Regions from separate parts of the Homo sapiens genome. Here all the other regions are linked to region 4. Evidence: promoter capture Hi-C in human tissues and cell types (Jung and others, 2019). All regions are on one chromosome and are shown on one strand. Each heading gives the region's core, a stretch centred on a gene start or on the middle of the fragment in contact. The rest is flanking DNA. Distances are from core to core; before and after follow the strand shown. Region 1 overlaps TAOK1 (TAO kinase 1). Region 2 overlaps SSH2 (slingshot protein phosphatase 2). Region 3 overlaps SSH2 (slingshot protein phosphatase 2). Region 4 holds the start of CORO6 (coronin 6).

Region 1 (6,449 bases), core at 844-3,343, 220 kb after region 4:
ATCCCAAATCACATAAATAACCTATAGCCACATATGATCAGTAATCACCCTCTTCAATATTGATCATTCATGCTCTCAGGTATATAATACCCTTTGTACTTTTATTTTTTTTTCAAGACCCATATAAAATCTCACTCCCTCAGGAGTCACTACTCCTAAACACCCCTTAACTCTACCTGTATAACAGTTAAATAAATGGTTCTCAATCAGGTGATTTTGCTCCCTAGGGGACATTTGGTAATACCTGAAACATTTTTTGATCATCACAACCAGGGGTGACGCTACTGGCATCTAATGGGTAAAAGCCAGTGATGCTGCAAAATATGCTATAATGCATAGCACAGATCCCCCCAACAATGAATTATCCTACCCAAAATGTCAATACTACCACGGTTGGGAAACCCTGCACTACACTATTGTATGTATTTACTTGCAAGCCTGTATCCCTACTAAACTACAAAATGGGAGGGATCAAGTCTTACTGATTTCTGTATACTGGCACAGTATCTACAAAATAACACACCAAAAAAATGTATTAATAAATACAGATGTGTCATTACTGAACCTATTTTAATAACCACACTGCCTAGAATGCTGCACTCAAAAAATATAAGAAATACGTATGTCATTGCTGAATCTTACTTTGATATGAAAGCTACATAACTTACTGGCTAAACTGGTTGTCTTTTTTTTTCTGAGATGGAGTCTCACTCTGTCTCACAGGCTGGAGTAGAGAGGTTCGATGTCGGCTCACTGCAAACTCCGCCTCCCAGGTTCAAGCAATTCTCCTACCTCTGCCTCCCGAGTAGCTGGGATTACAGGCGAGAGCCACCACACCCAGCTAATTTTTGCATTTTTAGTAGAGACGGGGTTTCACCATATTGGCCAGGCTGGTCTCAAACTCCTGACCTCAGGTGATCCGCCCACCTCGGCCTCCCAAAATGCTGGGATTACAGGCATGAGCCACCACTCCTGGCCTAAACTTGTGGTCTTTAAAAGCAAATTCCATCAATCACTATCTTGACTTGGTGTTTTCATAGTACATACCAACAAATTACAAATTATAACTATGTGAATATCTCAAAAGAGTATTAAACTGAAATTTATTTCCAAATTTACTGCAGCATGAGTAAACCAACTGGCTTAATGACTGTGCTCTGAAAGCATTTTTAAAAGGACACTGTTTCAGCAGGGCAAGGTGGCTCACGCCTGTAATCCCAGCACTCTGGGAGGCCAAGGCGGGTGTATCACCTGAGGTCACGAGTTTGAGACTAGCCTGACCAACATGGTGAAACCCCATCTCTACTAAAAATATATATATACAAAAATAAGCTGGGCCTGGTGGCACATGCCTGTAATCTCAGCTACTTGGGAGGCTGAGGCAGGAGAATCACTTGAACCTGGGAGGTGGAGGTTGCGGTGAGCCGAGATCATGCCATTGCGCTCCAGCCTGGGCAACAAGAGCAAAACTCCATCTCAAAACAAAGGACACTGTTTCAAAAATTTTTTGAACTCATATCATAGTGCCATTTGAATAAAATAGAGTAAAATAATGGATACTAAAATCTTGGCTATCATTCCACCTAACTTGAATCTAATAAAATTTATGTTAAAATACAGAATGGTAGTGTATTTTAACATATTGTCAAAAAATTAAACAGTTTTTACTTACCTATTTATTTATTTAGACACAGGGTCTCACTGTTGCCCAAGCTGGAATGCAGTAGCACAACCATGGCTCACTGTAACTCCATCCTCCTAGGTTCCAGCAATCCTCCTGCCTCAGCCTCCTGAGTAGCTGGGACCACAGGCACATGCCACCGTACTTGGCTAATTTTTTATTTTTAGTAGAGATGAGGCCTTACTATGTTGCCAGGCTGGTCTTGAGTTCCTGGGCTCAAGCGATCCCCTTGTCTCAGTCTCCCAAAGTGCTGGGATTACAGGCGGAAGATATCATGCCTAGCCAAAAGTTTTTATATCATAGTTATTTTACTTATTTTAGCAAATATTTCAGGCCAGGTGTGGTGGCTCATGCCTGTAATCCTGACACCTTGGGAGATTGAGCTGGGTGGATCACTTGAGTCCAGCAATCCAAGACCAGCCTGGGCAACACGGTGAAGCCGTCTCTACTAAAAATACAAAAAATTCGCTGGGTGTGGTAGCACAGGGCTGTAGTCCTAGCTACTTGTGGGGCTGAGGCAGGAGGATCACTTGAGCCCAGGAGGTCAAGACTGCAGTGAGCTGTGATCCTACCACTGCACTCCAGTCTGGAGTCCTACAACAGGTTCTTAAAAGAGTAAGACCCTGTCTCAAAAACAAAACAAAACAAAACAAAATCCCCCCCCACACACACACAGAAATATTTCATATCTCAACACTGTTTTATTTTTTACATGCCCAGCCAACTTTTTTATTCTTGATTAAAGATTAATGGCATTATTTTATAGAACTAGACATTCACACATAAAACACAAAAATACTTTTTCACTACCTAAGCTGAAGATAAAATGATCTTTTAATTACTCCATTTTCAAATTATTTGTACTTTTCTAGAGAATTAAAAAATCATTATCACTAATAACGACATGTCAAAGTAAAGAATCTAGGCCAGGCATGGTGGCTCACACCTGTAATCCCAGCACTTTGGGAGGCTGACGTATGAGGACTGCTTCGGTGTAAGAGGTCAGGGCTGCAGTGAGCTGTGATTGTGCCACTACACTCCAGCCTGGGTGACAGAGCAAGACCCTGTCTGAAAAGAAACACAAAAAACAAAAAAGAATCTGAAAGTGAGCACATTATATTGCCCCTCTGGGACTCAAAACTCTAATTCCAGTAAATAAAACCAACTGAAATACCATACTCCTATCAAGTAATGAGCCCTATAAAACATCATCATCATCTACCATTTATGCAGCAGGAGATTACTTAAATACTATATATTAAATAAAACAACATATACTATACAAAGTTTCTGTACAACAAGGAAGAGCAAAGTTTCCTTATCAAGTACAATCAAGGATATGGATGGTTTTGGCAAAAAGACAAAGCTTTTCCAATTTTCAGTAACCCTAAATTCCCCAAGTCTAAAAACGGAAAAACCTTGACCTTGTTTAGTAATGCTGTTCATCAACCTTTTCTGAAACCTCTTTCTCAGCCTCAATGGGAATAAATTGTAACAAATCAATCCAAAATACAAACTAGAGGTTTGTAACTACTACCATGAGTGAATTAAAAACATCAACTAAAACATAAATATTATGGTTAGATGTAACACATTGCAGCACACTGATTTTTTTTTTTTTTTTTTTTTTTTTGAGACAAAATCTTGCCCTGTCACCCAGGCTGGAGTGCAATGGCACAATCTTGGCTCACTGCAACCTCCACCTCCCAGGTTGAAGCAGTTCTCCTGCCTCAGGCTCCCTAGTAGCTGGGATTGCAGGTGCCCGCCACCATGCACGGCTAATTTTGTTTTTTTTTTTTTGAGACTAAGTTTTGCTCTGTCTTGATCTCTTGACCTTGTGATCTGCCCACTTCGGCCTCCCAAAGTGCTGGGCTTACAGGCGTAAGCCACTGCGCCGGGCCTAATTTTTTTGTATTTTTAGTAGAGACAGGGTTTCAGCATGTTGGCCAGGCTGGTTTTGAACTCGTGACCTCAAGTGATCCACCCACCTCGGCCTCCCAAAGTGCTAGGATTAAAGACATGACCCATCACGTCTGGCCTGGCATTTTTAAAATATACTTAATATACTTAATTAGTCACATAATAATTTTATGAACAGACGTATTTCAATTAAATCAAATCTATATATGTCCCCAAATAAAATAAAAATAAAAGATATTTTCTTAATATCCTCCAAATAAAAAGTTTTCAACCAGGCATGGTGGCTCACACCTGTAATCCCAGCACTTTCGGAGGCTGAGGCAGGCAGATTGCTTGAGCTCAGGAGTTCGAGACCAGCTTGGGCAATGTGACAAAACCTAATCTCTACAAAAAATACAAAAGAATTAGTCAGGTATGGTGGCGCATGACTGTAGTCTCAGCTACTTGGTAGGCTGAGGTAAAAGGATCACCTGAGCCCGGGAAGTAGAGGCACAGTGAGCCATCATTGTGTGCCACTGGACTCTAGCATAGGGAAGGGGACTGAGACCGTCTTAAAAAAATTAAATAGAAAGTCTTCTTTTTTTAAAATTCTGCAATTCATGAGAAACTGCACTCACACATAGTGTGTGACATTAGATATCTGATAACACGTTCCTTAATACAAAAACCTCAGAAGTTACCATGATTATCCAAAACTACTGGTACCCTGCCCAGGACCTTTTAGGCAAAGTCCTTGCTATCTCCTAAGCTTTGAAACCTAGGAAAGGTAAATATACCCAATATAACGACTAAATAGACTACAGATGAATCAGTAGAGATTGAAGGAGAGTTGTTGAAAGAAAAAGGAAAAAGCAAACTAAAACAAGCATACTTCAGAGACAGAAGATTAGAAGTAAAAGGGATGAGGTAAAAAAAGAAATTTTAGTTCAGGCACAGTGGCTCACGCTTATAATTCTAGCACTTTGGGAGGCCAAGGTGGGCAGATCACCTGAGGCCAGGAGTCAAGACCAGCCTGGCCAACATGGCGAAACCCCGTCTCAAACAAAAAGAACAAAAAGTACAAAAATTAGCCAGGCGTGGTGGCACAGCTACTCAGGAGGCTGAGGTGGGAGGATTGCTTGAGCCCAAGAGGCAGAGGTTTCAGCAAGCCATGATCACCCCACTGCACTCCAGCCTCCCAACAGAGTAAAACCCTGTCTCAAAAAAAAAAAGAGAAGAAAAAGAAAGTGATATGGTTTGGCTCTGTGTCCCTACCCAAATCTCATGTTAAATTGTAATCTCCAAAGTTGGGGGAGGGACCTGGTGGAAATGATTGGATCATTGGGGTGGATTTCCCCCTTGCTGTTCTAGTTGATAGTGAGTTCTCAAGAGCTACTGTTGTTGGAAAGTGGAAAGTTTGTAGCACTTCCCCCTTCACTCGCTTGCGTGTCCACACACATGCACACTCTCCCTCTCTCTCCTGCCAACCATGGGAAAATATGCCCACTTCCACTTCCGCTATGATTGTAAGTTTTCTGAAGCCTCCCCAGATGCAGATGCCTGTATAGCCCACAGAACCGTGAGCACATTAAACCTATTTTCTTTATAAATTACCCAGTCTCAGGTATGTCTTTATAACAGTGTAACTGGGTACCCAGAACATATAAAAATGTGGCAAACTGCTGAGCACAATAGCTTACACCTGTAATACCAGCACTTTGGGAGGCCAAGGCAAGAGGATAACTTAAGATCAGGAATTTGAGACCATCCTGGGCAACATAGCAAGACCCTGTCTGCACAAAAAAATTTTTTCAAAAATTAGCCGGGTGTGGTGGTGCACACCTGTAGTCGCAGTTACTCAGGAGGCTGAGGTGGGAGGATCACTTGAGCCAGGAGGTGGAGGCCGCAGTGAACTATGATCACACCACTGCGTTCCAGCCTGGGCAACAGAGCAAGACCCTGGCATCAAAAAAAAAAAAAAAAAAAAAAAGAGGCAAACAAAAGTTTCCCATAATAATGTTTACCCTTACTTTATGCACCACACTGACACTCCCCATTACTTTTTAAAATTGTTATTGTGACTCACTAAATTGAATTTACAAGCCATTAATGGATCACAAACTAAAGTTTGAAAGCACTGGCTTAGAGGAACTAAAAATTATGGGAAAGTCCTTGCTTTCCTATGATTATCTAGCTTGAGAAAACTATTCAGAAGGTGGAATTCTCCCAGGGCTGAAATACTGTCTTATCTGGCACATAATAATCACTTAAAGTTTGTTGAATTAATACATTTTGGAACGTAAGGCACTTTCAAGGTAAGGACATACCTACAAAAGATACCTAAATAAAAATGCGTAGAAGAGCATGGGTACTCTGAATCCCTTCAAAGACAGGGATGGTAAAAAGAGCTCCAGGAGGTAGAAGAGGGATACCAAATTTTTCTTAAATAAACAAAGTAAGTACTGGAAAAGAAATGTCATTTGTTGTTTTTTTTTTTTTTTTTTGAGACGGAGTTTTGCTCTTGTCTCCCAGGCTGGAGTGCAATGGCGCGATCTCGGCTCATTGCAACCTCTGCCTGGTTCAAGTGATTCTCCTGCCTCAGCCTCCCAAGTAGCTGGGATTACAGGCGCCCACTACCACACCCAGCTAATTTTTGTGTTTTTAGTAAAGACGGGGTTTCACCACTTTGGCCAGGATGGTCTTGAACTCCTGACCTCAAGCAATCCACCCACCTCGGCCTCCCAAAGTGCTGAGATTACAGGCCTGAGCCACCACGCCCGGCCTGAAATGTCATTTCTTAAGACAGGCTTTATATCCAGCAAAGGAAAAAGAAAACCTGTGATAAATTAAAAACTCCCATCAGAGGTGG
Region 2 (6,615 bases), core at 965-3,464, 220 kb before region 4:
GGGCCAGGCACGGTGGGTCATGCCTGTAATCCCAACACTTTCGGAGGCCAAGGCAAAAGGATCACTTGAGCCCAGGAGTTCAAGAGCAGCCTGGGAAATACAGCGAGACCCTGTCTCTACAGAAAATAAAACAATTAGCCGGGCATGGTGGCACATACTTGTAGTCCTAGCTACTTGGGAGGCTAAGGCGGAAGGATATGCCATTGCACTCCAGCCTGGACAGCAGAGTCAGACTCTGTCTCCAAAAAAAATAAAGAGAAACAATTAGTTGGGTATATGTATTTATAGATTACTCTGGGTTGCTTTATTTTATTGCCAAGCCTTTCATTCATTTAAGTCAGATTTGTTGTCGTCTTTTCCTCAAGAGGCAAAAGTTGTTTCATGTACTTGGCTGGCTTTTTAAAGGTGTTAGATCCTCCTCCTGTTTTGTTTTTTCAGGGAGTATTTCCCACACCTTTTTTTCCCCCTTTTCTCACTTCCCTGTTCCCACCCCCATGTCAAATGGAATTGAAGAGCTTCTTTGTAATTTGAAGCCTTAACCTTGGGGGTGGGGTGGGGGGCAGTTATTTGCAGAGCAAAATGATTGAAATCTCCATTACTTAGTTTTCTGCAAAGGAAGTGGTATGGGATCTTGATAAGTATTTGAAGTAGAAATACTGATGTAAAGAAGAAGAGTAGAAGATAAAGTCAATCGTCGAAGAACTTTCTCTTCAATTTTGGGATAACAGAAGTATGAACTTTGGTTAGTTTTATTCATTCATTTGCTTCTGCATAATTCATTCATTCACCAAGTATTGATTGACTCATGTGCAAATCACTGGGCCCAGGGGAGTAGGGGCCCTTAGAGAAAGTATAATCTACACTTCACAAATTAGTTTTATGGCTATTCGTGGAAAGCCCTGAAAAGGAAAGGAGAAAATCATTACATGCAGTATGTGGGAAGAAGAGAAGAAATCTGGATAAGTGGAAATAAATTTGGCTGGAGGCCAATTTGGCTGGAGGGCTGGCTGCCTTAGATCTCTTGGGGCTTTCCTGGAAGAGAAGGCAGGAGTGCAGAGAGGCCCCTGCCCCTTTTCTGATCCCACTCAGTCTCCAGGAAACCAGATAATAGATAGAAGCAGCTACTTGCTCCCTCTACTGTGCACAGGTTTGTTAGAGGTCTCCATAATGGGGAGAGGATCTGTCTGCCCCCAGAGAAAGGTAACAGTGTGACTGGAAGAAGTCACAGAGAAAGAAGATACTGGCTTTAGCTGCAGGAGTTTCACCTTGGCTTCAGATAAGAAGGAATGTAGGCAGTGACTAGAGCAGGTTGGGATGCTAGTGACTGCAACAGGCACTGAGACTCCTGAGGCTTCTCTTCATTTCCCTCTCCTGTACCCACTGCTATCCTACCTAAAAGGAGGAAGAAGCTCTGGATGAGCTGGGATTCCAATTATTGTGCTTATGGGTGGTCTCCTAGGAACAACTGGATTCATTTACCATTGTAGGGCTATTTCTTCCCCAGCCTGGTGGTCAGGAAAATATTTGTTATATTAGTTTATTTCCTAAAAATAAAACTTATTTATCTCATTTCCCTGGTCTTCTCACCCCAACCCCTACCCAACCAAACAGGCAGAAGGTCATATATAGAATAGTCATACTATTTTTATGGTCTGTTTCATTCCTTTGCTTGGTTTGTTATATTCTTGAAGGATATAATATTATATTCTGTGCAATCAGAAAAAAGCTTTTATGTTTGAATAGCCCAGTGAAAGGAAGAGATGTTAGCCTTTTGTGTTATTAAAGAAAAGAAAAAGCCACCCCCTAGAATCAAATGTGGAAAAGGCAGATGCAAAGAAAGTCTAAAATGTAAGAATTATTTGGTTTAGAATATTTTTACATTTTTAGACTATAGATCTGCATTCTCTTCTAGGGAAGGACAGTGTCTCAGAATACAATATCCTTGTTGATAATCAGCTTCTATGGGATTTTTAACATGGAGTCATTTGGGGAGTGGAAAAATGGCTTGAGAGAGAGAGAAGATTTAGCCTAATAGTAAGTTCAAGATGAAGGATTTAAGAATTTTTAAAAGTTATCAACATTAGGGTAAACCCTAATTCAAGGCCTGATGTGGAGTAGCCAGTCCTTATAGATTGAAGATAGAAAGGACTTCAATTCTCAGGGTTCTTCTGAGATATCCTGTTCTTGTATGTTTTAAGTTTTGGAATGTAGTGTATTGGAACGATGAAAACAATGGTTAGCTCAGAAAGGAAAACTACACTTAGGAGGGGGAAACTGCTATAGTAATTTTTTTTTTTTTTTCTTGAGACTGAGTCTCCCTCTGTCACCCAGGCTGGAGTGCAGTGGCACGATCTCAGTTCACTGCAGCCTCTACCTCCTGGATTCAAGCGATTCTCATGCCTCAGTCTCTTGAGTAGCTGGGACTACAGGCATGCACCACCCATGCCTGGCTAATTTTTTTTATTTTTAACAATTATTTTTTATTTGTAGTGGAGATGGGGTTTCGCCATATTGGCCAGGCTGGTCTCGAACTCCTGACCTTAAGTGATCTGCCCACCTCAGCCTCCCAAAGTGTTGGAATTACAAGTGTGAGCCACCGCGCCCAGCCTGCTATAGTAATTAAATCTACTTTTGTAAATCTCTAGAGATTATAAGCAAAAACAAGATAGTAGTGGATGAACATCCAGATACAACAACAAACTGGTTAGCTGGAAGGTGGGGATGGTGTTTAAGCCTACAGCAAGCACGTCCTGTCATTCCTGATAATTTGTATTTACTCTCTTCGTTTCTGCTATCTGTACCATGTGTATTTTCTGTTTATTTTTTCAGACTCATTTGCAGAACACCTTTCAGTAGCCAACATACACAAATAGAAAAAGGGGGGAAAAAGGGAAATTTGGTGCTAAGAAGATGAGTTTTATTATGAGTTTCAAATGGCCAGTTGGCCAATAGCAAACAGCTGCCCCACAGGAGTTTAGGATTACTTGAATTGTTTCTGCATCACCTCTGCTGCATTGTAGAGAGATTGTTAGGGCCCATCGTCAGAAAAAAGATAAAAAAAGTGTTGCTAGTGGCAAACATAGTTTTACCATGAACAATATCCTTATTTTTTACTTTGGAAGGGGTCTGATGCAAATTTACACTAATAGGAATGTGATGTTAAACTTATTTTGTTCCAGGTTAAGATGTAAGAAAGCATAGCTCAATGATTTTATCCCAGAATAATTATTATGAGAAATAATTTTCTTTTAAAAATCTTACGCTCTTGAGTGACATTTGAGGAGAAATAAGATTTGTAGTAATCTTGGGTACAAAGGCTATTTTTGAAATTAGCCTTATTTAACTCAGTGGTTCTCATTGTGGCTGCCCATTAGAATCACCTGATGATCTTTTTTTTTTTTTTTTTTGACACTGAGTCTCACTCTGTCGCCCAGGCTGGAGTGCAGTGGCGTGATCTCGGCTCACTGCAACCTGCGCCTCCCAGGTTCAAGAGATGCTCCTGCCTCAGCCTCCCAAGTATCTGGGATTATAGGTGCCTGCCATGACACTCAGCTAATTTTTGTATTTTTAGTAGAGACAGGGTTTCGTCATGTTAGCCAGGCTGGTCTTGAACTCCTGACCTCAGGTGACCCACCTGCCTCGGCCTCCCAGAGTGCTGGGGTTATAGGCATGAGCCACTGCGCCTGGCTGTGATGATCTTTTAAATTAATAACAGGGTCTCCTCCAGTTAAATCAGGATCTCTGTGAGTAGGGCCCAGGTATTGGTATTTTTTTAAATGCTTCCAGGATTATTCTAATATGAATCAAGGGTTAAGAACACTGGTTTGGGCTGGGGACAGTGGTGCACACCTGTAATCCCAGCACTTTGGGAGGCTGAGGCGGGAGGATCGCTTAAGCTCAGGAATTCAAGACCAGCCTGGGCAACAAAGCAAAACTCTGTCTCTACAAAAAAAAAAAAAAAAAAAAAATTAGCCAAGGGGGTGGTGTACTCCTATAGTCCCAGCTACTCGGGAAGCAGAGATGGGACGATCACTTGAGCCCAGAAGGTTGAGGCTGTAGTGAGCCAGGACTATGCCACTGCACTCCAGCCTGGGTGACAGAATGAGACCCTGTCTCAAGAAAAGAAAAAACAGAAAAAGAACACTGGTTTAACTCTAGCTATGCTAATTTTTGCACCTCCATATTAGAAATCTAATCTGCAACATTTGTAACATTGTAACATCTATTCCTTGAGCAGCAGGATAAAATGTGAGATAGACTACAATTTTTTAAGAGTTGGCTGTATGCATTTGATTACTCAGGTACAACACAATTAACTTACATTCTTTCTATTCAGTGAAATTCCTTGGCTAGTCTTCTGTTAAAAGCAAGATACTGAAATGAGATAATCCAAATCTAGTATAAATTTAAGTCAGTGAAGGGTAAAGTTTTCCATGTCTTTTCCATAAGGTATAAAGGGTATAAAGACTTATTCTTCCTGTGTCAACATTGCTAGGGAGCTAGAGTAAAGAAAAAATAATTAAAGATCACTTTATACTTTGTGTTTTATACTTTTACTGAAGTAAAATATACATACAGAAAAGTGTACTTATCTTGTGCTTTTATGTATAACAATGAATTTTCACAAACTGATGTTTTCACAAACACAGGTCAATCATGAAGTAAGTAACCTGTACCTAGATCAGGAAATGGAATATTACAACTCCTCAGTACTATTTCCCCCTTTGCCAATCCCTCCTTGCTCCTTTCAGTCACTACTGACTCACCCTCCCAGCCATCATACACCAGGAATAACCACTTTCCTGACTTCTTGACCATGTGATTTTGATGTGGCTATCAGGCTATGCTTTTTAGAGGGCTCTCTCAGACTTTCAGAATCAGAGAGAGGGCTCAGCATCATGTAGTAGTTAAAGAGCTCAAGTTGAAGGTTCAGACAATCTGGGTCAGAGCCCAGCTTCACCACTTACTGACTGTGACTTCACTCTAAGCCTCATTTCCCCTATCTATAAAATGGGAATAATAATAGTACCTATCCCATGGAGTTGTTAGAATTAAATGAGATAACTTATGTAAAGTGCTTAGAGGGCCTGGCGCATTATCTGTGCCAAGTAGAGAGCAGGGCAGATGCAGGATTCCCTCATGTCACCAGCTCTTCAACAGAGTCAAGGCAGTGCCACTGTTGTCTGCAGACATAATGAAGTTCATACTTCAGCTCTGGAGAAAAAGAAGAAGAAAAAGTGGGCATCCTGACCATCTTCCATTTTCTTCACCATCCCTAATTTGGCTTGTGGCTTGGCTAACTTGTGACAACTTCTAAAATATATTATTTAAGTACATGAAATGGCTATTGAAAGGCCAAAAATATTCTCTTAGACATCTTTATATTATCAATAGCTCTTAGCACAGTGATTTAATTGTAAATTGCACATAGTTGATGCCTTGGCTAAAGGAATCTAAAATGATACTTCAGACACACCATGCTCTCCTGTGCTGGATTTGTATTGGTCTAGGCTCCTGATCCCTCTTTTTACCAGAGTTGTATTTTTGAAACATCTGGCATGTTTCAAAGAATGCAGAAAGTGGCAGTGAAACAATTTGTAGGCAGAAACAAGGAGCCTCGGCCAAATTTGCAAAATTAACCAAATAAAAGCTCCAACTAGTTGAGTTATCTTGCTTCCATAATCTGAGGCAGGTCCTGCTGAGGTATATTTTCCTCTTATTTTGGTTTGGGAGAGCAAGCAAAACAGGAGGAGTTGTAGGTTTTCTCAGATTTTTAAGATTATAGCTTGGGAAAAATTTACCCTTTGGAAAGGGTGGGGTGAGGGGAAGGACCCCTTACTATGAGTACTTACCATGTGACACCCATTGTACTAAATGCTTTTTATACAGTTTAGTGTTGAATCCAAGTCTTTGAGGCAAATACTTTTAGTAGTCCCTGTTTAAAGGTGAGGAACCAGGCTTGCTTAAGGTATGTGACCATGCTGGTAGTGACAGCTAAGTCTGCCTGACACTCCCAGCCGGTGCTCTTTAACTTATGCTGGATTGCCTTTGCCCTTGAATGTAATGTTGTTATTCTGGTGCTAGGAGGTCAGGGTCAAATGCAGTAGTGATTCTCAACTCTAGTTTTATACAAGAATAATCTATAGAGTTTATTTTAAAAATATAGAAACTTAAGTCTCACTTTAGGAAGTTTCTTGTTCAGTAGGTCTTAAATGAGACCTGACATATTTCTTCTTCACAAAGGTCCATAGGTGATTGTGTGCCAGAGTTGAAAATCACAATTCTCAGAAATTCACTAGTGGGGAATTATAAGATTACAGATTTGGGGGCATCTGAAGACTGAATTTGGAATATTGTAAAGATACACTGTTATTGGAAGTACAGGGAAGGAAGAGTTAGCTTAATAATCAAGTTTCCTATTTCAGGAGGTAATGTTACAGCATCCTTGGGGTGTTGCTTTGCCAGCCAGAAACCTCTGTGGCCAATGGCGCCTTTGCCCAACTTTTGCTCTGGCCTGCTGGGCTCATTCCACCCACTCGGCCTGGCAGGTTACACATTACCGGCCTGGATCCCATACCTGCCAAGGGCGAGCCAGGCATGGGGTGGCGAGGGGTG
Region 3 (7,119 bases), core at 530-3,029, 170 kb before region 4:
CTGGAACTCGGGAGGCAGAGGTTGCAGTGAGCTGAGATTGCGCCACTGCAATCCAGCCTGGGCAATAGAGCAAGACTCTGTCTCAAAAAAAAAAAAAAAAATCTTTCAGTACAATTAGACCAAACTATGATGGCTTTGTTCACAGATAACAACCATAACTACAAAAATAGATAAATTAGACTACATCAAAATTTCAAACTTCTGTGCATCAAAAGACACTATCAACAGAGTGAAAAGGCAACCCATGGAACAGAAGAAAATATTTGCAAATCATAAGGGGTTAAATCCAGAATGTGGATATAAAGAACTACAGCTCAATAAAAACAAAACCCTAGTCAGTCCACTATAACAAAATACCTAGACTGGGTGGCTGAAACAACAGACATTTATTTCTCACAGTCCTGGAGGCTGGGAAATCTAAGATCAAGGTGCCAGAATGTTCATGTGAGGGTGTTCTTCCGGGCTTGCAGACAGCCACCTTCTCTCAGTGTTCTTACTTGGTGGGGAGAAAGAAAGAGAGAGCACGTTCTGGTCTCTTCCTATTCTTTTAAGGACACGTCATGGGGGGCTCACCATCATGACCTCATCTAACCCTAACTACCTCCCAAAGGCCTCGCCTCACTTTCGAGGGTAGGGCTTCAACATATGAATTAGCAGGGGGCACAAGCATTAAGTCCATAATATTTTGCCCGGGAACCCACAAAATTCATGTTCTCATACACAAAATATATTCATTCCATCTCAACATCTTTAAAAGACAAAACATTCCAGCATCAGTTCTGAAGCCTAAAGTCCAAAGTTTTATATCATCTAAATCAGATACAAGTAAGACCAGGAATGATTCATTCTGAGCCAACATTCCTCTCCAGCTGTGAACCTGTGAAACCAGGTAAATTAAGCACTTCCAAAATACCATGGTGAGGTAAGCATAGGATAGATTTCCTATCTCAAAAGGTAGAAATCAGAAGGAAAGTAGGACTGATAGGTCCCAAATAAGTTTAAAACTTAGCAAGGCAAATCCCCTTAGGTCTTAAGACTTGAAAATAATCCTTCTTGGTTTGATGCTCTGCTCTCCAGATGCACTTGAGTGGCAGCGTCACCCTCATTGCTTCATGTGGTGGCCCTGCCCCTTCAGCTCAGTGGAGTGCCATCCACAGGGCTCTCTGCAAGAGCCCTGCCCACACAACTCTGCTTGCCAGTGGTCCTAGCCTTTGAAACTGAAGTGAAGACAGCCTGCTCCCTGATCGCCACCCATGGTGGGTGTGATGAGAGTAGAAGCCCTGATGATCATCACTGAATTGCCTTTGGGGGGATCCTTCTTCCCCTTTCTTGAAGGATAATGCGTAGTCACAGTCTTCCTTTATTCCATTTCATTTTCTCTGTTTCCCTTAGTCCTAGCTGGCAGTATTTCTGTTTGCATAATCCCTTCTCTATCCTGGCTTCTATTGAGATGGCTGATTAGGCCTGTGGTTCACACCAACACTACCCTCCTTATATGGTCAGTCAGCCACACTGTTGGTGTTCCCTTCCAAACATGCTTTCTCATTTTTTGCAATATGCACAGGCAGAGAATGTTCCAAGTAAGTTCTGGTTCCCTTTTGCTTAACTATTCCTTCTGCAATTCATTTCTCTCTTTTTGCATTTTATTATAGCAGCCAGAAGGAGCCAAACCACTCCTTCACCACTTTGCTTAGAAACCACTGTAGTTGAATGTCCAATTCCACTGTTGCAAGTTCTACCTTCCACAAAATACTAGAACACAAACACAATCCAGCCCAAGTTCTTTGCCACTTTATAACAAGGATTGCCTTTTCTCCATTGTCCACTAACATGTTTCTTGTTTCCATCTGAGCCTTCGTCAGAAAGGGCTTTTCCATCCATATTTCTACAAATATTCTGTTCGTGGTTCTTTATGTATTCTCTAAGAAGATGGAAGCATTTTCTCCAGATCTCCTCTATCCTTTCTGAGCACTCACCAGAATTGCCTTTAGCAATCCCTTCATGGCAATCTTGGCTTTTTCTAGCATGCACTTCAAAACTCTTCTACCCATTACCTGGTTTCAAAGCCTCAGCACCCCATTTCTCAGGACCAATATCTGTATTAGTCAGGGTTCTTTAGAGAAATAGAACCAAAAAGGGTATCTCATAGAGATAGATAGATATATATAGAGAGAGGGAGAGAGGGAGGGAGGAAGGGAGGAAGGGAGGAAGGGAGGGAGAGAGTGAGGGAAAGAAAGAAAAAAGAGAGAGAAAGAAAGAAAGAAAAGAAAGAAATTGATTCTAAGTAAATGGTTTACATTATTGAGGCTGAGAAGTCCCAAGATCTGTAGGCTGGAAACCCAGGAGAACTAATGGTATAGTTCCAGTCCAAGTCCAAAGGCTTAAAGAACTAGGAGAGCCAATGGTGGCTCAGTCCACCATTTGCTGAGTCCAAGTCTGAGTCCGAAAATAGAAGACCAATGTCCTTGCTCAAAGGCAGAAGGAGGAACTTCTCCCTTATTCAGCCTTTTGTTCTATTCAGGCCTTCAATAGATTGAGTGAGGACTACCCACACTGGAGAGGACAGTCTGCTTTACCCAGTCTACTGATTCAAAGGTTAATATTATCCAGAAACACCCTCACAGATAAGCCGAGAATAATATTTAACCAAATACTGGACATCCTGTGACCCAGTCAGGTTGATGGTTGACACATAAAATTAACCATCATACAACCCAATTAAAAAATAAGCAAAGAACTTGAATAGACATTTCTCCAAAGAAGATAAACAAATAAGCAATAAGCATATGAAAAGATGCTCAAGGCCGAATGCAGTGACTCATGCCTGTAATTCCAGCACTTGGGAGGCTGAGAAGGAAGGATTGCTTGAGCCCAGGAGTTTGAGACCAGCCTGGGAAACATGGCAAGACCCCATCTCTACAAAAGATAAAAAAATTTAGCCAGGTGTGGTGTCACACACCTGTCCCAGCTACTCAGAATGTTGAGGTGGGAAGACTGCTTGAGTCCAGGAATTAAAGGCTGTGGTGAGCTAAGAAGGTTCCACTGCACTCCAGCCTGGGTAACAGTACAAGACCCTGTCTCTTAAAAAAAAAAAAAAAATCAAAATCACTAATCATTAAGGAAATGCAAATTGAAACCACGGTGAGATACTACCTCATACCCATTAGGATGGCCACTATCAACATAAAGCGTTGGTGAGGATATGGAGAAATTGGAAGCCTTGTGCACTATTGGTGGGAATGTAAAATGGCATAGCTGCAATGGAAAATAGTATGGTGATTCTTCAAAAAATTAAAAATAGAATATGATCATATGATCCAGCAATTCCACTTCTGGACTCCTGGGTAGATACCTAAAAGAATTGAAAGCAGGGTCTTAAGAGATTCATACACCCGTGTTCATAGCAACATTATTCACAATAGCCAAGAGATGGAAGCAACCCAAGTGTTCATCAACGATGAATGGATAAACAAAATGAGGTATTATATGTACAGTGGAATATTGTTCAGCCTTTAAAAAGGAAATAAGTTCTGACATGCCACAACGTGGGTAAAAATGAGGACATTAAGCTAAGTGAAATAAGCCAATCACAAAAAGTCAAATACTGTATGATTCCACTTACATGAGATACCTAGAATAATCAAATTCATGCGGACAGAATAATGGTGACTGGGGGATGGATGGAGTGGGAAGTTATTGCCTAGTGGGTACGGAGCTTCAGTTTTGGAAGATGAAAAAAGTTCTAGAAATGGATAGTGGTGGTGGTTGCACAACATTGTGAACGTACTTAATGCCAGTGAACTGTACACTTAAAAGTAGTTAAGATGGAAATTTTTATGTTTATTTTACCACAATTAAGAAACAATGTATTTATGCCATACTAGCCCCTTTTTGTGATTGATTGATTGAGACAGGGTCTTGCTCTGCCACACAGGCGGGAGTGCAGCGATACAGTAATGGGCTCAGTCCCACTTGAGCCTCCCAAGTAGCTGAGACCACCGGCATGCACCACTATGCCCAGCTAATATTTTCTGTTATTTTTGTAGAGACAGGGTCTCCCTATGTTGCCTAGGCTGGTCTCAAACTGCTGGGCTCAAGTGATCCTCCTGCCTCAGCCTCCCAAAGTGCTGGGATTACAAGTGTGAGCCACCATGGCTGGCCACCTTTTTGTGATATTTGAACTCCAGCAATATTTTTTTTTTCTCAGAAGACAGGCATAAAAAGATAACATAATTACAGAAAATCAGGTTTTATATCATTGACTATTGTTGCAGTACTTTTCCTTAGTTCAGCTAAAGACAGAGTTATTGTCCCATGGCAACAAAAATTTAGGCTCACAGATGATTGAAGGGTGAGAATAATGGGATTTATGGGGCAAAAAGGAAAACAAAGGGGGAACAGGGACTTTCTGCAAGGCTAGAATTCCTGCTGGTTCCTTCCTGCCTTGCAGTTTGAATCCCAGGTTTCACAAAGGAAGAGGAGGGGCCAGGCTCCTCCCCATGCAAATTGTGCGAACTTCCCGAAGCTCCACCTCAGTATGCAGGCTGGCTGGAGTTTTGCCAGGGAACCTTTCCAACCTGTTTGTCTCACTATTTGGTCAAAAGATAAATGGATGAAATTTGATGCCAGTATTTCCTTTGCATATTTATGAACTCAACTTTTTCTTGTGTGATGACCCACTTTGCTGACCGGGGAATAGCCAGGAAAATAACTATAGAAGTAAACAGGGCCGGGCGCGGCGGCTCACGCCTGTAATCCCAGCACTTTGGGAGGCCGAGGCGGGTGGATCACCAGGTCAGGAGATCAAGACCATCCTGGCTGACACGGTGAAACCCGGTCTCTACTAAAAATACAAAAAACTAGCCGGGCGTGATGGCGGGCGCCTGTAATCCCAGCTACTGGGGAGGCTGAGGCAGGAGAATGGTGTGAACCCAGGAGGCAGAGCTTGCAGTGAGCCGAGATCGCGCCACTGCACTCCAGCCTGGGCTACACAGGCAGACTCCGTCTAAAAAAAAAAAAAAAAAAGTAAACGGACTGGGCGCGGTGACTCGCGCCTGCAATCCCAGCACTTTGAGAAGCCGAGGTGGGTGGATCTCGAGGTCACGAGTTCGAGACCAGCCTGGTCAACATGGCAAAACCCCCATCCCTACTAAAAATACAAAAATTAGTTGAGCGTGATGGCACGCTCCTGTAATCCCAGCTACTCAGGAGGCTGAGGCAGGAGAATCGCTTGAACCCGGGAAGCAGAGGTTGCAGTGAGCAGAGATGGTACCACTGCACTCCAGAGCCTGGGCAACAGAGTAAGACTCTGTCTCAAAAAAAAAAAAAAAAAAAAAAAATGAAACGCCAATATTCAAACATATTAACTGTAAACAGCTGTCTCATATGGGTCAACCTAATACAATTATAAGATGATAAATAAAAATGAACAAGATTGCACTGAAATATATCTTGCAATCTCAGGACACCTTTTTTAAGGTGAATAGTGAATAGTTATGATAGGAAACAAAGTACTTTGAGATCTTAATTTAATTTTAATTATAGTAGAATTCTTTCATTCTTGTGTGTGCCAACCCCAAGATAAGAACTGTATAAAGTAAGGAGTTTTACATTTCTTCTCTCAATTCCAGCAATACATATAATATATTATACTTTTTTTGATTACTTTGAAAATGAAGAAATTATTTTTCATGTTCAGCTGAAACCCTCCCCTATTTTTAAGCCTGGTTTCTTCCTCTTTAGTCTTTCATGGACATAAAAAATTACTCACCATCTGCTGAAAAAATTCTTCACCTTTGAAAATTTGGTCTTTATAAGGGAAAAATGAAGCAAAATAAAAACAAAACAAAAAGAAAATTTGGTCTTTTCCTCAGTTGTTTCAAAGATAGCAATGAAAATAAAATTTGCAGCAGAGGAGAGGAAAAAAGCAATGTGGGCCAGAGCTGAGTCATGATGAATGAATGGGATTTAGATAGGAGAACAGAAGAAAAGGGTAGCATTCCAAACATAGGAGAGTGGGGAGAATGGAAGGATATCATCAAAAGTCTGAAAATAGGAGCTAATGTGTTTTAGGAAAGTAAGAAGGTAACTGTCTATACCTTAAAAGCAGAGGAGTTTCAATTTGATAGATCTATGTGTAGAAGAATGACATGACTAATTCTAAATATCACCAACCATTATTCAGGAGGTCATAGGATTCACAACTTCCCTAATTATTCTTTTTTTTTTTTTTGAGAAGGAGTCTAGCTCTGTCACCCAGGCTGGAGTGCAGTGGGGTGCAATCTCGGCTCACTGCAACCTCCGCCTCCTGGATTCAAGTGATTCTCCTGTCTCAGCCTCCCAAGAAGCTGGGATTACAGGCACCCGTCACCACACCCAGCTAATTTTTGTAACCTGACCTCAAGCGATTCACCTGCCTCGGCCCCCAATTACTCTTTTTTTTTTTTGAGATGGAATCTTGGTCTGTCGCCCAGGGTGGAATGCAATGGCACAATCTTGGCTCATTGCAACCTCCATCTCCCAGGTTCACGTGATTCTCCTGCCTCAGCCTCCTGAGTAGCTGGGATTACAGGTGCGTGCCACCACGCCCAGCCTATTTTTATTTTTAGTAGAGATGGGGTTTAACCATGTTGGCCAGGCTGGTCTCTAACTCCTGATCTCAGGTGATCCACCCACCTTGGCCTCCCAAAGTGCCAGGATTGCAGGCATGAGCCACCGCGTCCAGCCCCCAATTACTCTTTTTTTTTTTTTTTTTTTTTTTTTTTTGAGACGGAGTCTCGCTCTGTCACCCAGGCTGGAGTGCAGTGGCGGGATCTCGGCTCACTGCAAGCTCCGCCTCCCGGGTTCACGCCATTCTCCTGCCTCAGCCTCCCAAGTAGCTGGGACTACAGGCGCCCGCCACTACGCCCGGCTAATTTTTTGTATTTTTAGTAGAGACGGGGTTTCACCGTTTTAGCCGGGATGGTCTCGATCTCCTGACCTCGTGATCCGCCCGCCTCGGCCTCCCAAAGTGCTGGGATTACAGGCGTGAGCCACCGCGCCCGGCCCCCCCAATTACTCTTAAAGGTAACATCACTATTGTGAACCTAAGATCAGCTTTTTGAGATGCCTTTTCAGGTG
Region 4 (7,075 bases), core at 4,455-6,954:
AGCTCTTCCATGTAGAATACCCTGCCTTCTTGAAGCAGTTCCACCACCAATATGATGGGGAAGGGCAGGAACTTATGGCAGGGTGGGGAGAGGGTTTGCCTGGAAGTTAAGAGAGTGGCATCCACTTGTGGTAACCCCTTACGATGATGACATCCCACACACTAAGAGGTACAAGCAGGACCAAAGTTTTGGACTGTTCCCTCTTCTCCCCTCCACTGTGTTTAATGTTCACTCACTGCATTAAATAACAACAAAGATGGGACAAAACCCACTAATACTGTGGGGAAAAAAAATTTTCAAGAGCAGAGGAAAGTCTTTCTGCCTTTTTATAATTACTTTTTTTATCATTTAATTTACCTGCCTAAATAAACATCTTCTACAGAATATCTGTCATTCAACCATGCCAAGGAGTTTGTGCCAGCCTTTTCAGACTCCCAGAATTGGGTGTTCCTGGGTTATTTACATAGCTGAGCAGTGTCCAGGGGAGGTGCGCAGTGAACTGTCAAGGACTTTCCAGACTGTCTTCTCTTCAGACTTTTATAATCTCCAGTGGCATCTTTCCCTTTTCTTTTGTTCATGACCTGACCTGAAGCAGCAGATTTGATAGACTGGCAAAGATGAATAGGAAAAACTTTGACTCTTGCCCAGTGCCTGCCTGCCTCTCTCTCTCTCCTCTCTCTCTCTCTCTTTTTAAACCACCATAGACTCTCACTTATTTTGGAGGAGTGTATGTGCATGTGTACACATATGTACATATATAAAAACAGTTGATGTTTTGGTGTATGGGGTAAAAGCCCCAGGAGCATACAGAACTTGAGCTGAACCTGGTCAGTAGAAAGGGAAACCCCAACCCTTTCTTGATTTTTGGAGACACCCAGGACTAATGGATACTGTAGTAGACATGTAGTACTATAGTACCGTAATATTCATCTCTCCTCATTTTAGTTGCCTTTCAGATTCTAAATGTTTGGGATCATTCCTATCATCTTAGTCTCTTCAGGATCTTTAGTATTTTCCTGGTTCTGAGGAGGCTTGAGACAGGGTTATGGATTTCCTTGTTCTGTGTCTTTATCCCTACTGATAGTTCCTCTTTCTCATTTTGCAAACTACCCAGAGCTCCAAGGACAGCCTGAAGATCTCAGTGCCTCAGGCTCTGAGGTACTCTGCTCACAGGCCCCAGACAGATGCTGTTGGGTAAACTCAAAGCTTCCTATGAGAAGCTTCTGAGATGTAGCAGGTCACAGAAGTGTTCACCTGTTTCATCTGAGGATTTCAGTTCTGAAGTGATCTAGGCATGTTTGGTAAAAATGTTTTTGTGAGAGTTCTTTTTTTAAGAAAGCATTATGCAAAAAGTCACTTTTAAGGGCATTTAAAAATTTTTAAGTAAAGCCATTCTTTGGCTTTTTTGGACTATTTGTGGATACTTTGTTTACATTTTGAATATTAAAATGTGCATCATCTTGTCGGCCATGCAGTCCTGCAGGCATCAGTGCCCTGGCTGTCCTGTGAGTCCTCATGCAGAGCAGGGCCATCATGGTCAGCCCTTGTGAGTAAGTGGGTATACGCTGAAGCTGACTTCCGTCTGTGTCCTGCCCTCCCATCCAGCACTCTCTATGGAAATAGTTGTCATTTCCTCAGTGATGGTGTGTCTTATAGTGATGGTTGTAATGGTGAATGGCTAGTGTCATTTTGTTTAATTTTGTTTTGCTTTTTGATGGTGGATAAGATGAAATTTTAGCTGTTTCAGCATCAATCCAACTTAAAAGCATCTTGGACTTTGTTTTCCCTTCCAAACTAAAAGATCAAGGCATGTATTAGACACAAGCATATTTGCTGCCTCAACTCCTCTGACACCCATATTAGGAAAAGGCCTGCCACCAAAGCAGGAAGCTGCACACTCCTAACCCTTCTCCCAGGGTGTGGGGTCCCTTGACGTCATGAAGAGCTATTGCAAGGTGCTTCTGTACTTTTCCAGCCTGGAAATGGAGGGTGACTGGCCCTGGCTCCTGCTATGAGAAGATAACCAGCCTCATTTTCTCAGTGCCCCAGAGGTCTAGGATAGGATTTCTAAACTGGAATCATCCTTAATCACCTTGAAGATCCCTTAAGAGGCATTTGACTGGTGCTGCCGTCTGTGTCCTCAAAGCAATGCTGGTGGCAGCGTCCTGTGTACACATGCAGAGCTAATACCCAAACTAAAAACTGGGTAACTGGCCCTGAAGTGCTTCCCAATCAGTAAGCCCACAGGGAAATGTTTGATTTTTATGTTCTGTTGGATTTTGGTTTGCTTGGCATATCTAAAGGTGCCTTTACTTTTCTTTTTTTTTTTTTTTCTTTCTGCTTTGTTTTGTAGGACTTGTTCTAACATGGAAAACAAGTCCAGAAGACTCTCCTCTGACTGTTACCTTTGCCCCAAGCCACCCCAAACTTTTATGCTCATGTTTTATTAAAGCAGGTGCTCCCTGGAATCTCTGGGACATTTTTGAGGCATTTGAAGCAGAATATAGAGTGGTCTCATCTCCTTCCTTAATCTTCCTGGTGGTTGGGATGTTCCACTTGTATCATAGATTTTTTTATTACAGATATGCTCCACTGTTTTTAAATGTGAACTTGTGCGCAAATGTGCAGATTCAATGTTCTTGTTACAGATTGAATAAATTTTTATTTTGAAGATGAAACGTGTACTTCATCAGATGCAACAAAGGAGGGAGGTGCTGGAGAAGGTGGGAGAGTCAGAAGAGGAAACACAGTGAACACCAGTAGTTTTCAATGATTGATCCCAGTCATGTCACCCTGAAGAGAGAGCTGAGTCCCCAGAAATAAATGAAACACCTCAGCCCACTGAAAAATGTCTAGAAATGGGACATGAACATCATGAGATATTTAGTGGTGCCATTCATCACATACAAGGCAGGACTACCATCTAGGGAGAGCTCAGTTTCCAGTTCCCAATTGCTAACAAAATTTGAAGTCCCCGCCCCCCTCAAAAAAAAAAATCACTGCCTTGAACTAAAGTCAGCCTGCTTCATTCTGAATCATCCATATCAAGTGGGAGGGGCACAGTGCTGGTCTTTAGCTGGAGTGCATGACGGTGAAGGTAAGGTCTTTCACAAAATATTCTAAGGATCCCTGGGATCCCTGACCAATCTAGATAAGTTCAGTCTTGGTTTTCTAGCCAAAGCAGATGGACCAAATCATGGCTAAGTTGCGAGCTACCTCATCCAGAAAATGGCTTCCTAAAAGATGAAATCCATGGCTGTCTTCTATGGATTGCCGTTCAGAGCTAACAGTTCAAAAGGGAGGCACGAAGCCCAAGTAGCTTCTCTCCCTGATTGGTTCTTCCTGCCTTAACTCTGCCCACTCACAGCTCTGTCAGGCCTTGGCAGCCAGAAGAAGGCTAGAGGGCAGGGCTGAGCTACGCCAGGCCCAAGCAAATATCTGAATCCCTGTACCCAGAAAGCACTGCTCTTCCTAGATGATGGAACTGAAGGGAGCACGCATTGAAGGATTCCTGCTTCCTAGTCCCAAGCGCTTCCCTCTAGAAGGGAGTCTCCTGTTCTCTTTAAAGAGAAGGAGGGTGGGGGTAGGGGAGATGCCACTTCAGAGGAGGCAGCACATAAAATCCCTACTCTGCTAAGGAGTGGTGCAGAGTTGGAAAGAATCTGACCCAATCCTGTTCAGAGAGCTGTAAAAATATGGCGATTGAGCCAGGACTGGAACCAGTTTTTTAATTCATTCCAGGCATCCTTTCCTCTGTGCCACACAGTATAAACTCTCAGTTACGTTTTAGCTCAGCACTTGTGAGATAAAGTGGCACTGTCCTTCAGGGAGAGACAGAAATGCATGCTGCTGAAAAGCAAGAACCAGATGCCAGACCACGTGGGTAAGAATCATAGCTACATCAACTACCAGTTGAGGTTGTGATGGGTAAGCCACCTAACCTCTTTGTGGCTCCATTTCCTCAACTGTTAAATAGGGATAACAACAGTACCCACCTTAGAGGATTGTTTTTTGGTTTTTTGTGCGTGTGTTTTATTTGAGACAGAGTCTCATTCTGTCACCCAGGCTGGAGGGCAGTGGCATGATCTCAGCTCACTGCAACCTCTGCCTCCTAGGTTCAAGCAATTCTCGTGTCTCAGCCTCCTGAGTAGCTGGGATTACAGGTGTGCATCACCACACCTGGCAAATTTTTGTATTTTTAGTAGAGATGGGGTTTTGCCATGTTGGCCAGGCTGGTCTCGAACTCCTGACCTCAGGTGATCCACCTGCCTCAGCCTCCCAAAGTGCTGGGATTACAGGCGTTAGCCACCCGCGACCAGCCTAGAGGATTGTTAAGAGTATGAAATTAATACGTATAAAGCCCTTAGTGCCAGTGCCTAGCACATAAGCATGGGTTATTGTTGTAAAGGAGCAACTGAGTCACTCAGGTATTTTCCTCCTAATCATGTGCCTGGAATCTTTAGGTAAAAGAGAGATGACTCACATACCCTCATACCCTGCCCCAGCACCCCTACGCCAGGAGTTATTTCTGGAGCACTCGTAACAGTTTTTTATTCTGTTCCCCTACAAGCCACTGACTCTTGATTTGATTCTGTCCCTACAAGCCACCTGGACTCTTCCTGAGAAACAAAGGAGCCTCGTGGGCCCTTCATGGTTTCTACCACCTTCCCTCCCTTTCCTCCCCAGTGCTGGTTCCTGCCCTTCAGAAGGCTGTGTTCCATTCACTCACTCCCAGGTGTGCCCTGGAGGGTGGGAAGTAATAACTGGCCCCAGATGCCCTTATGATCCAAGGGAAGAAATCCAGGCAATGTGCAGACACTGGGTAGACTGGAGCTACGGGACTGGCTGGTCTTCACTGGCTGTATTTTGATCAGGTTATCTTTAATCTCCTTGACCTCGGTCAACATTCAGTTCTGTGAATATTGGGGGAGACGGGGGAAGCTTACCTGGAACACAGTCGGGCGCCAATTCAAACAAGGCCCAGAAAACATTAGGAGTCTGGCCTCTGAGTTGGCTTCTCTGACCCCTAAAATGTGACTAGAGACCGGTGCTAGCCTCTTCCCCCTGCATCTGGGAGGGGAGGGAGTGTCAAGGTGGGTTCACTTTACACTCGGTCCTCCCCTTGTTCTTTCAGCTGCTTCCTGCCCTGCTCCATGGAATCTCATCTAATGGGGTGAAATGCCTAGCACACAGCCAGCATTTTAGGTTTCTCAAATGATCGCTATTGCCATTCATAACAATAACTAACATTCACAACCCTGTGTCGGGTGCCCTCTCACTTGCCCTACATCAGGATCAGCCTGGGTCCTCATTCTCTAGGGCCTCTTTCCCCCAGGGAGGCCTGGAAGTGCAGTCCCGCAGTCCCGGCCGATCGGGACAGCTAAATTGGGAGCGCGATTGAGGCTGGAATGCGGGTGGAGGCACCTGGTCTCCCTCGGCTGCCCGCTCTAGGGGCGCACGCCCCCTCGCCCGTTCCCTCTCCAAGCGTCCTGCTCTAGGTCTGCGAACCCGAGCCTCCCCAGCCTACCCGGGAGTCATGGAGGGAGGGAAGCAGCGTGCGCACCTAGCACACAGCTGCACATTTATTTTCGATGGTTCTCCGAGGCCGGCGGAAGCTGGGAGGGGAGTCGGGGTCGCTCGACTTTCCCGCCGCTGGAGGGGGCGGGGCAACTTGGGCTCTGGCCCCGCCCCTATGCTAGCCCCGCCCTCTTAGGTTGATGGCAGCGGCAGCTGGGGCTGCAGCGGCGCCGGGCTCTAGAGAGCCGCAGGATCGGCCAGAGTGCGGAGCTGGACACCCGGGTCCCAGATACTACAGACACCCGGAGAGGTGGCTCCTTCGCCCTGAAGCCTTCCTCGGCCCCCTACGCACTCGGGCCCCTTCCGCAGAGGATTCGCAGCGTGAGCGCCCCGCAGCCCGCTCAGGACCAGGTACCCAGCCCCCCACACCCGGCCGTCACCGCAGCCAGCGGAGCGGGCGGGGTCCCTGAGGGGCAGAGGTCTGCGCCTCCTCCCCCCGCGCCGCCAAATTCGGTTTCGGGCGGGGAGGACGTGGTGTCTATATTTGGCCGGACAGCAGCCAGCGCTCCCGGAGGGCGCAGACACCTCGTCTCGCAAGAACGCAGTGTCAGGGCAGCAGGCTGAAGAAGGGTGCAGGGAGGCCGGGCCTCAGGCTCGGGGCCGCAGACGCGCCTTGAAGGGCACACGGATGCTGGGGCTGGGGTGGGGCAGGAGCCACTGGCTGGGGCTTTGGGAGTGCTCAGTGTGTCCTCTAGGGAGACCCTAGCTGGAGAAAAGGCACCTCACCCTCCCCACCCCTGCAAATCTGGCTTGGCCGTGGCGGGGGCAGGGGTGGAGGATGGGGTTGAAGACCCCACCCCTAGAAGAGTTCACTAGGAAGAAGGCCCAACCAGGGCAGAGGACCCAGAGGAGAAACCGGACAAGCCTATGGTAGGCAAAAGCCAGAAGACCATGATCAGGGCTTCCTGGAGAAGCCAGTGCAGAAAGGAGTGGGAGAAGAGGGATCCACCTCACTCTGTGCTGCCACCCGTCCCCCCACAAGGCATGGGATGAAAACAGTAGCAGAAAGGACTCAGATTGGTGGACAGGAGGAACTTCCCCCTTGGCAAAATTTTAGGAAAAGGCAAAACCCCATCTGCCTGAACTATTCCAGAGATGCGAGTTCGGTATCCTGTGGTGGCTGCAGTCTTGGCCCCATACCTGGCTTTAAGCCAAGATCCAATGGTCAAGTCTTCTGCTTCTGGACAGGGTGCCTCTGGGAGCTACAACCACGTCCGTGAAGAGATGCTCATCAAGGCTGGCGGTGGTGGGGGCGGGGGGTGCAGGCAGTGTGGCATTGAGGCTCCTCCCAAAAACATTCCAACGTCCAGAAAGCTTTCAGTCTGTTAGGCTCCACAATCCCCTCAGCCTGGGTCTCTGTGGAGAATTCAGGCCCCAAATCCTAGCCACTTACATTAAACAGCATTTTACACAGCAAAATAACTTTCCCATACTTTGACCACCTTGAAGAAAGCTCCCTGCTTCTAGGACCAGACACTATATGGATTTATACCTGACT

The links. The method cuts DNA at HindIII sites, captures the fragments that hold promoters and counts their contacts. A contact is called where the count stands out against the background at its distance.
Region 1: a fragment that was not itself captured here is called in contact with the fragment with the promoter of CORO6 in region 4 in 1 of the 25 tissues and cell types used here (dorsolateral prefrontal cortex).
Region 2: a fragment that was not itself captured here is called in contact with the fragment with the promoter of CORO6 in region 4 in 2 of the 25 tissues and cell types used here (dorsolateral prefrontal cortex and hippocampus).
Region 3: a contact is called between a fragment that was not itself captured here and the fragment with the promoter of CORO6 in region 4, in 8 of the 25 tissues and cell types used here (H1 embryonic stem cells, bladder, dorsolateral prefrontal cortex and 5 more).

The regions. Positions count from the first base shown.
Region 1 is chr17:29,400,026-29,406,474 of GRCh38, reverse strand. All of the region lies in intron 1 of TAOK1 (TAO kinase 1), which reads right to left. Among named protein-coding and RNA genes, the nearest start is that of MIR4523, 13 kb to the right of the region's middle. RefSeq lists an enhancer at 5,048-5,117. The HindIII fragment of the contact is 3,210 bases long and covers 489-3,698 here.
Region 2 is chr17:29,839,246-29,845,860 of GRCh38, reverse strand. The region is part of intron 2 of SSH2 (slingshot protein phosphatase 2); the gene reads left to right. Among named protein-coding and RNA genes, the nearest start is that of SSH2, 88 kb to the left of the region's middle. The HindIII fragment of the contact is 4,094 bases long and covers 168-4,261 here.
Region 3 is chr17:29,783,712-29,790,830 of GRCh38, reverse strand. All of the region lies in intron 3 of SSH2 (slingshot protein phosphatase 2), which reads left to right. Among named protein-coding and RNA genes, the nearest start is that of SSH2, 140 kb to the left of the region's middle. The HindIII fragment of the contact is 9,040 bases long and covers 1-6,299 here.
Region 4 is chr17:29,621,541-29,628,615 of GRCh38, reverse strand. It overlaps CORO6 (coronin 6), which reads left to right and starts at 5,704. Exons shown (of 11, transcript NM_032854.4): 1 at 5,704-5,928. It overlaps SSH2 (slingshot protein phosphatase 2), which reads left to right. Exons shown (of 16, transcript NM_001282129.2): 16 at 1-2,678. RefSeq lists an enhancer at 3,904-5,103 and a silencer at 5,891-6,040. The HindIII fragment of the contact is 11,130 bases long and covers 3,082-7,075 here.